Regions from separate parts of the Homo sapiens genome. Here region 1 is linked to region 2. Evidence: promoter capture Hi-C in 16 types of primary human blood cells and fetal thymus (Javierre and others, 2016). All regions are on one chromosome and are shown on one strand. The core of a region is centred on a gene start or on the middle of the fragment in contact, and the rest is flanking DNA. Distances in the headings are between cores, read along the strand shown. Region 1 overlaps NABP1 (nucleic acid binding protein 1). Region 2 holds the start of STAT4 (signal transducer and activator of transcription 4).

What was found. The method cuts DNA at HindIII sites, captures the fragments that hold promoters and counts their contacts. A CHiCAGO score of 5 or more calls a contact.
Region 1: a contact is called between a fragment that was not itself captured here and the fragment with the promoter of STAT4 in region 2, in 2 of 17 cell types (total CD8 T cells and naive CD8 T cells). The highest score is 6.8, in total CD8 T cells.

What each region holds. Positions count from the first base shown.
Region 1 is chr2:191,682,662-191,686,196 of GRCh38, reverse strand. NABP1 (nucleic acid binding protein 1) reads right to left here. Exons shown (of 6, transcript NM_001031716.5): 4 at 2,393-2,468; 5 at 1,901-1,967; 6 at 1-598. The coding sequence ends at 429. Among named protein-coding and RNA genes, the nearest start is that of NABP1, 6.3 kb to the right of the region's middle. The HindIII fragment of the contact is 6,591 bases long and covers 1-3,535 here.
Region 2 is chr2:191,149,372-191,153,191 of GRCh38, reverse strand. It overlaps STAT4 (signal transducer and activator of transcription 4), which reads left to right and starts at 2,198. Exons shown (of 24, transcript NM_003151.4): 1 at 2,198-2,245. RefSeq lists enhancers at 1,779-1,858, 1,989-2,038 and a silencer at 2,509-2,558. The HindIII fragment of the contact is 5,548 bases long and covers 1-2,320 here.

The DNA.
Region 1 (3,535 bases), core at 20-2,519, 530 kb before region 2:
TTCTTGTGTTTTTTGATGGTTATTGCTTTAGTTGGCAATATCTGAATACAAGACAAAAGAACATCTCCCATTAAGCCTTATGTTAAATATTACAAAACTTATACAGAAGATAGACTCATAGAGGCTATAAAGCTGATGTCTTAAGTAACTCACCCATGAAATGGGTGCAGGTTTTTTAAAGGCTATCCAATAATCTTTTTACTCTAAAAATAAATGCCCCTACTTTTCAGTGTTCCCATTCTTCAACAGGAGACTCGAGCAGCTTAACAGTTTTGCTATAAAAACAAACCATTCTTCTTAACAAACCAAGAATATAAAAGGAAACCCAATAAAGGACGTACTTTTCACAGTTAACAATAAATAAAAGTGCAATAAGTGTTCAAGTAGGGCATGTAGTATAAAAACTACACATGAGTATTTAGCATAGGTCATCTTTTAAAGGCTCTCCGAGGGTCCCTGCCATTACTTATTGTGGTCATCACTGTTTGATTACTAGCTGTTCCTTGTAGTTGTGGATTTATAAGTCCCCGGCCATTGCTTCTGCCAGCATGTGAAAACTGGTGTTCCCTTGATTCAGGGCCAGTGTGAACACCATTTCCTAAAAAAGAATACAAAAATTCATCACTATTTTCAGAGGTAGTCTATAGAAGTAGAACTATCTTAAGTGCCAACATGTTATTAATGCTTAAAAATATTAAAGCACACACTTTTATTTTTATACAGAAAAAAAAAACAATGTGGGCTCTAAGTTTTTCCAAATGTATTGCTATAAATATGCTAACTTGATGCTGTATTAATAGAGAGAAAAAAGCCAACTTGGGCATCAAAATTAGAAATTAATAGAGTAAAAAAATGCATTGCCTACACTATAAAAGAAAAAGAAAGGGCAAAATAGTGAATATTGGAATTTGGCTCAAATATGATTAATATCTCAAAACAGACAATGTTATTCTAACTTTTTAAAGGCAAAGGCAGCGTTTCCCACAATGTGATCAGCAATGCCAAGACATGTAGCCTTCGAGTCAAATAAAACATGAGCTGGCCAGGTTCAGTGGCTCACGCCTGTATGTAATCCCAGCACTTTAGGACGCCGAGGCAGGTGGATCATTTGAGGTCAGGAGTTCGAGACTAGCCTGGCCCATATGGTGAAATCCCATCTCTATTAAAAATATAAAAATTAGCTGGGTGGTAGTGGTGCACATCTGTAATCCCAGCTACTTGGGAGGCTGAGGCAGGAGAATCACTTGAGCCTGCGAGGTGGAGGTTGCGATGAGCCAAGATCACGCCACTGCACTCCAGTCTGGGCAACAGCGTAAGACCCTGTCTCAAAAACAAAACAAAACCAAAACATGAGCCATCCTAATGAACTCTAATCACAAAAGACTGACTTTTCCTCATATATTTAAGAAAAAAGACTTCAGAAGACCTTTAACAGAGCTACAAGGATCATGAACATGATGTCTGGGGGTCATGTTAAATGACATCTGAGGGTCACTAGCCTTTAAACGGCTCAGCTCATCTTTTAAAGCAGCAGCTACTTGTATGTGAAAAATTAAGGTGAACTATGACTCTAAAGATAAAACGCTTTCAGTGCACCAAAATAACCAGTAATTCTGCATCTACTATAAGTAATCACTAGATTATAGAAATTTTATAGGAATCAATAAAAAAAAAATAGCATGGTATCTCTTCACGGACATCACAAAAACTTAGAATTCTCAATAAACTGGCTTAAGTTTATCAACTTTCTAGAAAATCAGCCCTTTGGGGATTCCCTGTTTACTGGTAGTTCACCTTTATCACTAATTTATGCCTAAAGACGTTGCTTTTCACGTGAATCTTTACAGCTCTCTTCATTCTTATACCTGATCACAAATGAAACACACAAACAAAATCTTACCCACTGGTCCAAATGTACCTGTACCCATATTACTATTCATGGAATTATTCTTCTGTTCACTCTGTGCCTAAAAAAAAGTTTTTAATTTAACCAAACGAGAATAAAAACACAATTATATTATTACAACATTATTATATCCTTTCTTTTTTAAAGTTTTGGGTTTGGCTTTTTTTTTTTTTTTAATTAACAAATTTTTTAAAGATTTTTCCTAGGTCATTAAAGGTTATAATGTTAAGAAACGTTTCCCAAACCTTTCAGAGCTCTGTTACATCCTATTTCCTGATAATTACTCAGCACACCACAAAGTGCAAAATGGCACATATATCTAGTAGATGACACCTCAGATACATATCCTCACAAAACATACAATAAAAATTAAGTATCCTTTTAAAAATTATCTTCTTTATACTAAGTATCAACAGGGCTAGCCTAATCATAGAATTATAACACAGTCAAAATTAGCCTAATCATAAAAGTATACTACACAATTACCCCTTTGTTCTGCTGTCCTCGATAATCTGGGTTGGGTTCACTGAAATTTGGCACTTCTGAATAAACCATACAAAATCTGAAAGAAAATAAAGAAAAAATTAAATGACTTCTGAAATAAAGTCCTCAACCCTTCTTTATGTAACATCTCTAACTTTTAGGAATGAACTTATGTGTCAAACAAATTAATAGCAACAAACTAACTCTTCATTTACAACAAAAACTTCCCAAATGATTATGTCCCATAAAACATCAAATATTTGACTGTCTACAAGATATATAACATTCTATTTTGTATTTAAATTCTTCTTTAGTGCTGAAAAAAAAATCACATCAAAAATCAAGGACACAAAAACATCTCTGTCCTGTTTTTCCACAAAAGCTGATCAAAGGAAAAATAACATGAGAGTGAACCATGTTTAGGGTTCCAGGGTGGTTTCTCCAGCAGTGGTAATGGATTTGCACCGATCCATTCACCCACTCCCATTCAGTCCCTCTTTTGATCGATCACTGTGGATCTGCAAAGATAATCATTTAGGGTTAAGAGTGGTTTCTAGGCAATAAATAATAACAACAGGCTACATAGCCACCAGTTTATCCAAGTGCTTCCTGTAAGTTGACCATATAATGTGTACTAACATTACAAAGAAGCATTTTATTACTCCTCACCATACTGAAGACAAATCAGAACCAGTTTTGGTAAATCCTCGACTGACCCTGACAAAGAGCAGTCATTAAGAAATGAGTGACCTCTAACGGTTTTTCACGTAACTGACCTCCATTATTATCAACACCTCTGTATGAATACATGAAGGTCAGGACAGAATCCTGAACCTTTCAGTAACAGACACTAAGACCTTTCATAACACATAACTCTATTAATGCTACTCTAAGTGAATCCTAACTTCCCTTCTAACAAAGGCAAAGCGTTAAGTGTTTCTGATCTTTAAAAGCTAGCATGATCATTTCTTTTCCTTCATTATTAACCACAGGTTCTCCAAATAAGCATCTTATTCCCTCAGTGGCAAACAGTTTTCCTTTTTTATCTGGTGCCATTTGTGGCTTCTCTTTTTAAATATCTTCCAATTTGACAGGCATTAAGTAGATGGCAGAGCATTAACCAAACAGAATGGACTGATGATTTGG
Region 2 (3,820 bases), core at 949-3,448:
GGAAGCCGCAAGGTAAGGCCCTGAAAAGGAGGAGGAGAACAAACTCTGTTTTGTACAGCAGGCACTCAACAATTGAATATGATAATGATAAGGACATGTAAAACCAGTGTGACTAACACTATGAGGCAGGAAGTGAAAAGTGCTAAATAAGTGGTCTAGATGTGCACTGTCCAACACGGCAGCCACTAGCCATATGTGGCTTGGAATGTGGCTAGTCCTAACTGACATGCCCTGTAAGTGCTAAATATACACCAGACTTCAGAGATTGAGTATGAAATAAGGAATGCAAAGTATCTTATTGATAATTTTTTATATTGATTATATGCCAAAATGTTAAGATTCTTGTATATATTGGGTTATTTACAATATTAAAATTAATTTCACCTGTGCTTTTTTCCTTTTTAATATGGCTATGAGAAAATTTACAATTACATATGTGGCTTACATTTTATTTCTCTTGGAGAGCGCTGGTTTGGACAGGAAGTATGAAGAATTTGGAGCAGGGAAACATTGCTGTGGGTTCAGGTCATCGGGAAGTCTTCACTGAGAACTATAGGATTTCACTAAGTAGGTAGGCTCAGGGAGGAATATCCAGTTGAAGAAAGCCTCGGTAGTGAAATATGAGGTTAATCTGGGCAGCTGAGGTGACTGCTTGGGTCACATCATGGGCTCTTATAGGGGAGAAAAGTTTCCTGGATAGGTTGGGACCAAACTGTACAGAACTTAAACTGCCAAGAATTTGGATTTTTTTCCTATAGGCAGTGACAGCTTCTCCAGAAGAAAATCAGACTTTGCTTAGTAGCTTATGGAATAGCCTGAAATTGGCACTTTCTTATGTAGGGTCAGAGCAGCATAAGCTCCTGGAAACTGCCTGCTCAACAAGCAGTGGGGACCAGGCCTACCTAACCAGGAAATTTACAGTGATATGGAAAGTGTGACTTTGGATTGATTGACCTATTTGGGGGTGGGTGGTAAGTTTAAGCACATGATAATGTCACCTGGGAGAGAAGAATCCAGAGGGTGTACCTGTGTGAAACCCGTCAGGGAAGAGGGAGGCAGGCCTTTCACCTTGGTATATTGCTCTAAGCATGTGTATAACCAAATTGAGTGACACTTTCTACCTTTCTTTCAGTCTGTCTGTCTGTCTTTATTTTTGTCTTTGTTTTACTATTTTTACTTTCTTAAACATTTTTATTGATTTTTTAATATACGGTGGGATTTTACTGTGTTGCCTGGGCTGGTCTCAAACTCCTGGGCTCAAGGAGTCCTTCCACTTCAGCCTCCCAAAGTGCTAGGATTACAGGTGTGAGCCACACGCCTGGACTTCTCTTTATTTTATTGAACCCCTACTGTGAATCAAGGGGTTAAGAGCTAACTACAAGGAGATGAAATGAAAAGACCACTGAAGTGGGAAGGGAAACACCTGGGCTATTATCGGGCTCCGTGGCTAACTTATTGAGTCCTCTTGGTCACCTCACTGGGTCTCTTCAGATATGAAAGAGGATTTAGCATTAGATGGGACCAAGACTTCCTCCAACTCTGTGATTCTAGAACAGGCTGATGTCACAAAGGGAGAAGAACGCACCGTAGCAACCAGGGGCAAGGCTACTCAAGGAGAGTAGGAGGAGGCTAGGTCAGGAAGGGCAAGCACTGGTGGCCTACCCAGGACTTGGCCCAACCCTCTGGGTCAGGTCACCCTCGTCGGAGTGAGCGGACCCCGCTGGAATTGGAGCCCAGTAAGGTCTATGAGTTTGGTGTTTTGATCCTGGCTACCCATCCCTTCCATCCCAGGGGTGGTTCACCAGGCTGAGTGGAGCCTTATACTAGGGAGAGAGGAAGCTGAAGAACTGGGCTCCAGGTAAGTAACTCTGCAGAGGATCTCAGATTGTCTAAGGAAACCACTGAAGAAAATGTATGCCCCGCCCCTCCCCTTTTTCCTGGCACTGCTGAGCCACCTGCAGTTGCGAGAGCCGCTGGGAGGGATAAGAGGGAAGAGGACGCCCGGTGAAGGGGCTCCAGCCTGGCAGTTTCTGCGTGTTAGCATTTCTAGAATAGAGTGGGTGGGAACTGACCCAAGTAAAGTCCCAGAGACTCGAACACTGACGCACAGGAAAGCCTCAAGTGGGAGGAGAAATGCAAATCCCCTACTGATGATGGCGTCAGCGGCTTTCTCCTAGGGACTGTGAGGGGCGCTTCTGACTTTGGACTTGAGCACTGCCTGGGACCTGTGCTGAGAGAGCGCTAGGTAAGTGGCCAGACCACACCTTCTGGCTGCCTCTTGTAAGGAGGACATGCTTATTATGCAGGATACTCTGAAGCTTTGCTTTCCCTTGGCGTTTTGACAATTGCTTCATTTTAACCTTCCTGAGGAGGCTTATTATAGAAGGAAGCGCCCGACTCCACGACCCACAGATGCGCCCTGGCACGGGTTCTCCGCGGAAACCGCTCCGCAGGCCCGCGCCACGGTGCCCGGGCGAATCTCCCTGCGGGGGCCAGGGGAGCTGCGGCGGCTGCGGAGGTGTGTCCTCGCGGAGGCTGAAAGTGAGCCCCTCTTCACTTTCTTAGCCAGCTTCTCTAGAGCTGTGATGTCTGACTTTAGATTAGCGTACCTGGATTTCAGAAAAAAGCTTGCAGCTACGGCAGCCGGTGACTGTGGCTTTGATGGGCGCGAGTGACATTTTAGGGCAGGTCATCTCCTTTTGCAAGCTACAGGCCACAGAGCCAAAGCGGCACCACCAGCTCACAGACGGTGGGACAAAATGCCCCTTTAGTGGGATCTTCTAGGAAATGCACGCAAAAAGGACAGACAGGCACTGAGTTTTCAGAAGCAACGTCACAGTTTTCATGAGAAAGAAGTAGCCCCTAGAGAGTGAAAGCAAAGAAACCTGCTGAAGGATGTCTAAAGGCGTTCCCAGAGGCTGCAATAGAAAATGTCCTAGGACTATGTATTCCTTCTTCTTCCTTTTTTCAGCTTTGAATTCAGCTCTCCGAAAGACTCAGATCTTAGTAGTGATTTTTTTCGGTGTTTATTTTTATTTTTTTTAATTTTCCTTTTATTTTCATTTGACACACAATTGTAAATATTTATGGAATATACAGTGATATTTCAATAAATATGAACAATGTGTTATGATCAAAGGATATTCAGCATATCCATCACCTCAAACATTTATCATTACTTTGTGTTGTGAACATTCAAAATCCTCTTAGCTTTTTGAAAATATACACTAAGTTATTGTTAACCATATTCATCCTAGTGTTACAGCACTAGAACTTATTCCTCCCATCTACCTGTAAGTTTTAGTTAGAAAATAGATTTTTCATCCAAATCATAGCGGGGGTTTAACAATAGTATGATGAAAAACTGTAATGCTATTTTCAACTCATGTTCTCTGTTGTCATTAACTAAAATAAATTGATAGATAGGACAATGTTGATAGTAGCATGAGAACAAATGTTCCAATTTTGTGTGGAATATATACACATCCGATGGAATATATATACATCCGATATCTGGAAAAACAAATGGTTCAGACTCAGGAAACCTCAGGTTGTCCCTTAGAAGCCTCACACATTAGGCAGGCGTCATTTCGCCTATTTGATCTTCAAGTTTTTCCTTTTTAAAGTTGACATACTACTTATATCCACCTACCATATTCATAGCAATGTCAGGAGTGCCACTCATTCTTCATTTAACAAGCATTGATTGAGCATTTACAATATGCCTAGAATTGTAAAGTGTAAAGGTTTTCATAAATATAAAATGATATGCAAATAAAACATTACTTCTTTTCCCACTTGCTTTCTCTTTAGCAAAACA